Linked DNA regions of Homo sapiens: region 2 is linked to region 1. The links are contacts of gene promoters, found by promoter capture Hi-C in blood cells and fetal thymus (Javierre and others, 2016). All regions are on one chromosome and are shown on one strand. The core of a region is centred on a gene start or on the middle of the fragment in contact, and the rest is flanking DNA. Distances in the headings are between cores, read along the strand shown.

Region 1 (4,881 bases), core at 2,382-4,881:
ATGTCCTTTGCAGGGACATGGATGAAGCTGGAAGCCATCATCCTTAGCAACCTAAGACAGGAATAGAAAACCAAACACCACATGTTCTCACTCATAATTGGGAGCTGAACAATGAGAACACATGGACACAGGGAGGGGAACGACACACACCGTGGCCAGTCAGAATGAGGGGTGAGGGGAGGGAGAGCATTAGGACAAATAGCTAATGCATGCAGGGCTTAAAACTTAGATGACGGGTTGATAGGTGCAGCAAACCACCATGGCACATGTATACCCATGTAACAATCCTACACGTTCTGCACTTGTATCCTGGAACTTAAGGTAAAATTAAATTAAAAAAAAGAAAGAGGGTGTTTTCCACATTATGGGTCAACCATTGTTGGACAGTTTTATTAGAAACAGTCTATATATGTGTATACTCATCTAATGTTGCACTTACATGCATATACATCAGGGCAAAATCCAAGCAACTACTCATACCGGGGGTGTAAGAGTCACTTAAGTGGGGTCTACCCAGGTAATATTCCTCAATCTACTGTATGGATGTGGTGTTTGTGCTTAGCTTCTAGATGCCATACAAACATTACTAACTCCATAGTTTTTAAGTGTTGAAAGTCTGGATAAGTGGTAGTACATGGGTTGGGCATGGTGGCTTACACCTGTAATCCCAGCATTTTGGGAGACCAAGGTGGGTGGATCACCTGAGATCAGGAGTTCGGGACCAGCCTGGCCAACATGACAAAACCCCATCTCTACTAAAATTACAAAAATTAGCCAGGCATGCTGGCGGGCGCCTGTAATCCCAGCTAGTCAGGAGGCTGAAGCAGAAGAATTGCTTGAACCCAGGAGGCGGAGATTGCAGTGAGCCGAGATCACGCCACTGCACTCCAGCCTGGGCAACACAGTGAGACTCTGTCTCAAAAAAAAAAAAAAAAAGTAGTATATTATTTCAATTGAAAAAGAAGAAGATAAAAATATGAAAATGGTGATATTTTTACTTTTTTTTTTTTTGTCGAGACCAAGTCTCACTCTGTCACCCAGGCTGGAGTATAGCAGCATGATCTCAGCTCACTGCAACTTCTGTCTCCCGGGTTCAAACAATTCTTGTGTGTCAGCCTCCTGAGTAACTGGGATTACAGGCACCCGCCAACATGCCCAGCCCGGCTAATTTTTGTATTTTTAGTAGAGATGGGGTTTCACCAAGTTGGCCAGGCTGGTCTCAAACTCCTTACCTCGAGTGATCCACCTACCTCGGCCTCCCAAAGTGCTAGGATTACAGGCGTGAGCCACCACACCCAGTCTTTACTTTTTATAATAGTATAATTGGTTCTGAAGAGAAAAGGTGAATTTATGCAACATGCAAAATCTATTATGGCAGTACTCAGCACAATATAAAGAAAAGATAGACTTGGAAAGCAATTAAGTGTGTGGCTAGCAAAACAACATCAATATTGTATACCAAAAAGGGAACGCTAGAAATACATTTAGGAACTTAAAGGCTAAGCCTGGTAAGAAGCTTTACCATAAGCTTGTAGGTCTGAGGCCTATTGCAAGCTAAACAACATCAGTGAATGCCACACTAGCAGATGCAGACCTCATAACGTTACCCGTCTCAACAACTTTGAAGCATAGTTAAAACTCAACTAAGTGACAAAGATAGTACCACAAATCAGTGAGGAAATGATGGATTATGCAATTAATGTGTTGAAACATCTGGATAAAAGCTTGGAAAATAAAGTTAGGCCCCTACTTCACTCTTTACATCAAAATTAATTTCTGATGTTAAAACTATAAAAAGAAAAGTTTTATTTACAGAGAGGTGAAGCCTTTTCTAATACTACACAACACCCAGAAATCATAAAATAAAGATTTTTACATGGAAAAAATATTAAAGTTAAAACCGAAAAAAGGTGCAATCCATATCACAAGTAAAGGGTCTTTTTTCATAATGTATTAAGCTCTCCTACAAATCAATAAGAAAAATGTAAACAACTCAGTGGAAAATATAGGCAAAGTCGATGAACAGACAGTTCCCAGAAAAAGAAATAGCTTTTAATCACATGAAAAAGTGTTCAATCACATTTATAAGAAATACAAATTAACCCACACATCATTTTTCACTTACAAAATTGGTAGAGTTAAAAAAGTATAAGACATTTTCAACCGTTGATGAATTGTAAATTGGTAAAACTTTTATGGAGAGAAATGTAGCACTACTAATCAAAATTACAAATGTGCAATCTTTGACCTAGTAATCTCACCTCTAAGAATTTATCCTTTATATATCTTGAACATGTGTAAAGTGATGTACATATAAGGTATTTGTTGCATAATTGTCCATAAAAGCAAAGGTAGAAACATTCTGAATGTCTGTCATTAGGAAAGTGCTCAGTGGCTATTTTTAAAATAAGGTAGATATTTGTGTTCAAATATGAAAACATCTTTTATATGGCCAACTGGAAAAGGCAAAGTATATAGCATTCTATGATTTCTATTAATAATGAAGAGGTACTGAGATGATGGATAAAGGTAGGTATATTTTTGCTTGTATATGTTTAGAATATTTCTGGAAGGATAGCCAAAAGGTAGTAATAGTGGTTGCTTCCTTGAGGTACACCTGATGTCTTGAAATTATGGGTGGGAAAGACATAAACTTTCTACTGTAATATGTCTTTTTACCTTTACAATTTTTTATCATGAATGTGTATTAGCTATGCAAAATAAATTGAATAGAAAAACCAATTCCCTGCTCAAAGCAAATCCCTCCTGCTTCTCTCCTCCCCAGTATTTATTGCATCTTTTGTTATCCTTGCATGTTTATATCCCCAACAAAACCAAGAGTTCTTTGACTGCTACAACTGTGTCTCCATCGTGTTTGCATATCCAGCATTTGCACATTGCCTTAATCATGAAAAGGGTTTTTTTTTTTTTTTTAAAGTGATGTTTTGAAGGATGAAGAAGACCCTTTTTTTTTGGGTGGAAGTCAGGCTCCCTTTAAATATGGCCTAATATTGCTGAGCAGGGTTGTGAGGCCCTAAAAACGTCTTCCTACCATTCCTGGAATTCTACCTTGAAACATGTCTCTATCCTTTAAGAGAAAGGGAGGAGATAAAAAGGAGAGAGAGAAGCTGAAGCTGACTCAAAGATCCGACTGGACCTGAACAGTGCCCCAGGGAGAATCCATTTGAAAAAAAAAAAAAAATGTGATCATGTGAATGGACAAGAAGGAGATGGCTTTAGATCTTATATGCTCTAAACGAAGAGTTACGCTGAGAGGGAAACTGACTTGTCATGAAGTCAGCTTTGTTCCGTTGCTATGTGTCATCCCTGCTAATGGTGAGTTTACCTAGGGCAGAGGCTACCATCTCAACCATGAAGCTGAAGACACAGGCATCCGTATTCTATAGCTAATTCAGTTGATTTCATCTCAGCACACATACACTGAGCGCTTCCTAAGAGCGAGGTTGACCGACATTTTTATTAGCAATAATCTCTGCCTTCTTCTGATTACCTAGAGATTTAAGACCACATAATCATCCTCTACCTCACAGGGTCAAGGGAGTGGGGGAGGAAATGGGCTAAGAGGTTCTAAATCCCTCCTAACACTTGCTTCTTCCAAATCAGCAAGATTAGAGCAGTCAACAGCTGACTGCGTTCAGACCCTGCAGGCTGGGCTGGCCTGCCCAGGACCTGAGAAGGGGCAGCTCCGGTGGCAATGTCTGAGCCCCTAGCTGTGCTGGTCCGGGCTGGCCTCTCTAAGACAGTGCAGGCCACGTGATCCATCCTCCTAGAGGCAGTGAGCAGGTGAGGGACCCCTACCACAGCCAGGAGGAAAAAGCTAGGCGTCCACTTTCCGCAGCCATGCTCAAACAGAGTGAGAGGAGACGGTCCTGGAGCTACAGGCCCTGGAACACGACGGAGAATGAGGGCAGCCAACACCGCAGGAGCATTTGCTCCCTGGGTGCCCGTTCCGGCTCCCAGGCCAGCATCCACGGCTGGACAGAGGGCAACTATAACTACTACATCGAGGAAGACGAAGACGGCGAGGAGGAGGACCAGTGGAAGGACGACCTGGCAGAAGAGGACCAGCAGGCAGGGGAGGTCACCACCGCCAAGCCCGAGGGCCCCAGCGACCCTCCGGCCCTGCTGTCCACGCTGAATGTGAACGTGGGTGGCCACAGCTACCAGCTGGACTACTGCGAGCTGGCCGGCTTCCCCAAGACGCGCCTAGGTCGCCTGGCCACCTCCACCAGCCGCAGCCGCCAGCTAAGCCTGTGCGACGACTACGAGGAGCAGACAGACGAATACTTCTTCGACCGCGACCCGGCCGTCTTCCAGCTGGTCTACAATTTCTACCTGTCCGGGGTGCTGCTGGTGCTCGACGGGCTGTGTCCGCGCCGCTTCCTGGAGGAGCTGGGCTACTGGGGCGTGCGGCTCAAGTACACGCCACGCTGCTGCCGCATCTGCTTCGAGGAGCGGCGCGACGAGCTGAGCGAACGGCTCAAGATCCAGCACGAGCTGCGCGCGCAGGCGCAGGTCGAGGAGGCGGAGGAACTCTTCCGCGACATGCGCTTCTACGGCCCGCAGCGGCGCCGCCTCTGGAACCTCATGGAGAAGCCATTCTCCTCGGTGGCCGCCAAGGCCATCGGGGTGGCCTCCAGCACCTTCGTGCTCGTCTCCGTGGTGGCGCTGGCGCTCAACACCGTGGAGGAGATGCAGCAGCACTCGGGGCAGGGCGAGGGCGGCCCAGACCTGCGGCCCATCCTGGAGCACGTGGAGATGCTGTGCATGGGCTTCTTCACGCTCGAGTACCTGCTGCGCCTAGCCTCCACGCCCGACCTGAGGCGCTTCGCGCGCAGCGCCCTCAACCTGGTGGACCTG
Region 2 (4,881 bases), core at 1,557-4,056, 520 kb before region 1:
TGAAAGGGCACAAACAATAGCTTAGAGGGTGGGCTTTGCTTTGGGGTTTTTCAGTAAGAAAAACTTCTCAGCTTAGAGACTGTCGATGCCTCTTTAATGTGTTTCTGTCCTCCCACGGAAAGAGATTTGGCGAGTTGTTTCCAAAATGTCATTTTTTCCTACTGGCCTCTTGATGGTTTGTTGTTATATCTTCTTTTTCTTGCATGTGATGTTACTTCATTTTATCTTCTTATTTTTACTTTTAGGAACAGTCAGAAGGAAGTGGGACGGATGATGAGTGATCAGTATGGACCTTTTTCCTTGGTAGAACTGAATTCCTTCCTCCCCTGTCTCATTTCTACCCAGTGAGTTCATTTGTCATATAGGCACTGGGTTGTTTCTATATCATCATCGTCTATAAACTAGCTTTAGGATAGTGCCAGACAAACATATGATATCATGGTGTAAAAAACACACACATACACAAATATTTGTAACATATTGTGACCAAATGGGCCTCAAAGATTCAGATTGAAACAAACAAAAAGCTTTTGATGGAAAATATGTGGGTGGATAGTATATTTCTATGGGTGGGTCTAATTTGGTAACGGTTTGATTGTGCCTGGTTTTATCACCTGTTCAGATGAGAAGATTTTTGTCTTTTGTAGCACTGATAACCAGGAGAAGCCATTAAAAGCCACTGGTTATTTTATTTTTCATCAGGCAATTTTCGAGGTTTTTATTTGTTCGGTATTGTTTTTTTACACTGTGGTACATATAAGCAACTTTAATAGGTGATAAATGTACAGTAGTTAGATTTCACCTGCATATACATTTTTCCATTTTATGCTCTATGATCTGAACAAAAGCTTTTTGAATTGTATAAGATTTATGTCTACTGTAAACATTGCTTAATTTTTTTGCTCTTGATTTAAAAAAAAGTTTTGTTGAAAGCGCTATTGAATATTGCAATCTATATAGTGTATTGGATGGCTTCTTTTGTCACCCTGATCTCCTATGTTACCAATGTGTATCGTCTCCTTCTCCCTAAAGTGTACTTAATCTTTGCTTTCTTTGCACAATGTCTTTGGTTGCAAGTCATAAGCCTGAGGCAAATAAAATTCCAGTAATTTCGAAGAATGTGGTGTTGGTGCTTTCCTAATAAAGAAATAATTTAGCTTGACAAATGCAGCCTCTTTCTTTGAATTCTAGAGGATTGAAACCCTTGTGCCTGAAGTGGCAGTTTCCTGCAGAGGGCTGGGCAGGCTCTTGCTACTGAACACTGGATAGGGAAAAAAAGGGAGAGGTCGAGAGAGCCAGTCTCCTTGAAGTGGTCCAGCTATGTCCACCAGGGGAGCCTGTTGCACCCATGACTTTATTAAACAAACAGCAGAAGAGATGCTGCCATGGGCCAAGCCATATGAAGTCCCTGCTCAGCCTTAAATTCTGTTTCTTAGTTGGAAAATCTCTCTCTATTGCTATTTATGCCTTTTGATTTTGAAAGATTTCAAAAATATTCCATCGAAAGACTGGTTCAATGAACACCTATATACCCTCCACCTGAGATTCAACAATGATTAATAGTTCATCCCCACCCCGTTTTATTTTACCAAACCATTGGAAAATAAGGTGCCGTCAGTCATTACGATACTTCGCACCTAGTATTTCAGCACAAATCTAAGAATAAGCGTATCTTGTAGCCAACCACAGTCCTATATCATACCAAAAGGAATTAACTAACAATAGTTCCCTGATATCTAAGAAACAAGCCATAGTCACATTTTCCCAACTGTCCTAACATCATCTTGTATTTGTTTAGTTTTAGCCAGGATCTTTTCAAGGCTCACACTTTTTGTGTTTGATTGTAACATTTGTCTCAATATCTTTTTTAAAGTTCTCAAAAAAATAGCACAAAGATGGGCAATTTTTTTTTTTTTTTTGAGACGGAGTCTCACACTATTGCCCAGGCTGGAGTGCAGTGGCGCGATCTCAGCTCACTGCAAGCTCTGCCCACCTCCCCCCCACCCGTTTCACGCCACTCTCCTGCCTCAACCTCCCAAGTAGCTGGGACTACAGGTGCCCGCCACCATGCCCGGCTAATTTATTGTATTTTTAGTAGATACAAGGTTTCACTGTTAGCCAGGATGGTCTCGATCTCCTGACCTCGTGATCTGCCTGTCTCGGCCTCCCAAAGTGCTGGGATTACAGGCGTGAGCCACCGTGCCCGGCCGATTCTTTCTTAAGGAACTGGTGATGTGATGATGATAGGATCAAAATGGGAGAGTTTTCCTTCAACACTGCTGGGTTGGTGAAAGCTTCCTTTTTTAGAATGATCTAAGGAGAACTCCAGGATCCTTGCTTTTACATGTGAGGATTTGCCAATGCCGCATACTGCTGTGAATCCTGAAGGAAATTTGATCCACACAGAATACAGTCCTGAGAAACTTCTTTGTCTCTCTAAATGTCAACTCGTTTGTTAATTTCCAGTAGTCTGAGAGTTCAGGAGAAGTTTCCCTTCTCGGTTGGTTTCTCGGATTTGCTAACTGCAATAGGATTGGAGACCTCCATGAAACAGTATACCCATATTAGTTTCTCTTACTGAGATGATTTGGTATCAGTTCAAAGAAAACAATCATCTTTGCTTGCTTCTATTTCTGTATTTTCTGTATTTTTTGTGCTCTTTGCAATCTCTCCTTGGCTTCAGAAGCATTGCTGTTTCTAACGCCCTCAAAACCACTGTCTCCATCGTTCAGGATTTCTATTGTGTGAAGAATGTTCTCTAATCCTTCAAGGAGAATGTGTTATTCTCTTTGGCTATAATGGAAATGAGAGCCAGGGATGATCATTGAGAACAGGAGTCTCTTCTCCTTCGGGTGGGACTGGTGGTAAACAGTCCAGGTGATAATTGAGGTGGCAGCAGAGTGAGCATGCACTAACAAGAAGACGGGCCATCGCGAGGGCTAAGGATGGGGCGGGCCATCCCGAGCATGTGCCTATGCGGACCTGTTTACCACGTTGTGGCAGCCTTCTTGTTCAGCTCTAGTTGCTGAGCCCATCAGCGTAGTTCTTTCCAAGGTCAAAGGTGTTTTAGGAACAGAGGAAGGAATCTAAGAGTATCAGGCTATGTACTGATTGCGTTATTTTATTCAATTACAAGAACGTGAGGAAGGCATAGTTCTTGTTCCCATTTGACAAATAAAGATAATGCAAAGAAGAGATTGAAGAGCAAAGAGCTGTGCACCAAAAGTTGGAAGTTAGATTTGTTTGATTCCAGACCCCATATTCCTTGGAGCTTCCCCACCTCCCCTCAGTGAGTGAGGCCTGGAACTGATCTTGTTGATAAGCTTCAGGCACCCATTTACCTGGCACTTGCTGACACAATTGGGCTTACAGAGAAGTCCTGGCTCAGGTTTCTAGTTCCCGTGAGCCTTTCCACTGAGACCCAGTTTTCTTGGCTGGGCCCTGCTACTCTGGCTCTTCCTTCACAGTCCTCTGCAAGGGCCAGAATGGGGTCCTTAGGTCCCAGCTACTGATGGTTCCTAAAGGCTACTGACTTAGATATCACTACTGCCATCATCCACCCATCAGATATAATGCCATATGTATACGTAGTGACCAAGTTCATGTTTGCCCCACACATTGATAAGACCACGTGTTTTCTGAGAAAGAGGTTTTTACACCCCATCATCTCCATAGGTGCTGGACAGAGTAGGCTTAGCGTGCAATTATATCTTCAAGTCCTCCAGTTCCATATCCAACCAGACTGGAATTCCTAAGCACTTCCCATGTGGAGAGTCTAGAGCCACCACCAGTGCCACCTGAAGGAACAGACGCCTGACTGCCCCCCTATCCAAGCCTGGCCTCTTACTCTAGTGTCAGTCTGCTACGTGGACCCGAGTTGGCACACATCACAGCTGGATCTGCCTGAGTTATGCCACCAGAAACATGATTCTCAGACTATTTTCATAGGTCAGACCCTTAAAATGGGGTGTTTTAAATATGAACCTCTCAATTTCCCATTAGAGATATTATATAGCCAGAATATACTGGAACCAGATGTACTGTAGCAGGAATATAAAGGTTTTAAAAGACCTTTTTCCCTCTAAGGCTGCTTATTTATCTTTAAGTGTAATTATTCAGATGAGAAATTAGGATCATGGCCCTTAATTGGGAGTCAAATGTGTGGGTTATTCTGGATTTTGCCACAGCCTTATTTGAGTTTTGATTTCCTCTATAAAACGTGAAGAATAAGTGAGTCGTCCTGTAATTGCAAGCTGTGTAGTTGAGACATACTGTCGTGTTGTCAAAGGTTTGCAGTATGTTAGAAAAAATTGCTTGTAAATTAAATGTCATTAAAACATCCAGAAAGATTCTCAAAGTCAAGAAATAGACTGGAGATGGCTTTTAAGGGCCCTTCAATCATTGACAGTTTTGAAACCAGTGTTTCTCAGAGTGTGGTCCCCAAACTAGCAGCATCAGCATGACTTGGAAACATTGGAAATGCACATTCTCATGCCTCATCCCAGACCTGCTGAATCAGAAACTCTGAGGGTGGGGCCCCCTAATAGAACATACGCTCCAGATGATTCTGATATATACTCAAGTTTGAGAACCACTAGTCTATTAGGCTTTTAATAATCTCTATTATTTCATTCCTGAGGAACAATATGAGGCCATACTGGTCTTGATTTAGATCATCGGTACAGGCATATACACCCAGCACGCAATTGTCATTCTTCTAAAAAGAAAGTCACCATCAATGGGAATAATAGGAAAAGCTGAATATTTTTTTTTTCTCTCTCTGAAACGGCTTTTCTGTCTCGTACATTACAAGGCAGCAATCTTCATTTGTGCTTGACTTAACCTTCATTGAGAGTGATGTGGTGTAATACTTGGGGGAAA

What was found. The method cuts DNA at HindIII sites, captures the fragments that hold promoters and counts their contacts. A CHiCAGO score of 5 or more calls a contact.
Region 2: a contact is called between a fragment that was not itself captured here and the fragment with the promoter of KCNV2 in region 1, in 1 of 17 cell types (M2 macrophages). The highest score is 5.0, in M2 macrophages.

What each region holds. Positions count from the first base shown.
Region 1 is chr9:2,713,879-2,718,759 of GRCh38, forward strand. KCNV2 (potassium voltage-gated channel modifier subfamily V member 2) reads left to right here and starts at 3,632. Exons shown (of 2, transcript NM_133497.4): 1 at 3,632-4,881. The coding sequence starts at 3,862. The HindIII fragment of the contact is 3,823 bases long and covers 1,723-4,881 here.
Region 2 is chr9:2,192,459-2,197,339 of GRCh38, forward strand. All of the region lies in intron 2 of LOC107987043 (a long non-coding RNA gene), which reads right to left. SMARCA2 (SWI/SNF related BAF chromatin remodeling complex subunit ATPase 2) reads left to right here. Exons shown (of 34, transcript NM_003070.5): 34 at 246-1,162. The coding sequence ends at 281. Among named protein-coding and RNA genes, the nearest start is that of SMARCA2, 180 kb to the left of the region's middle. The HindIII fragment of the contact is 1,029 bases long and covers 2,293-3,321 here.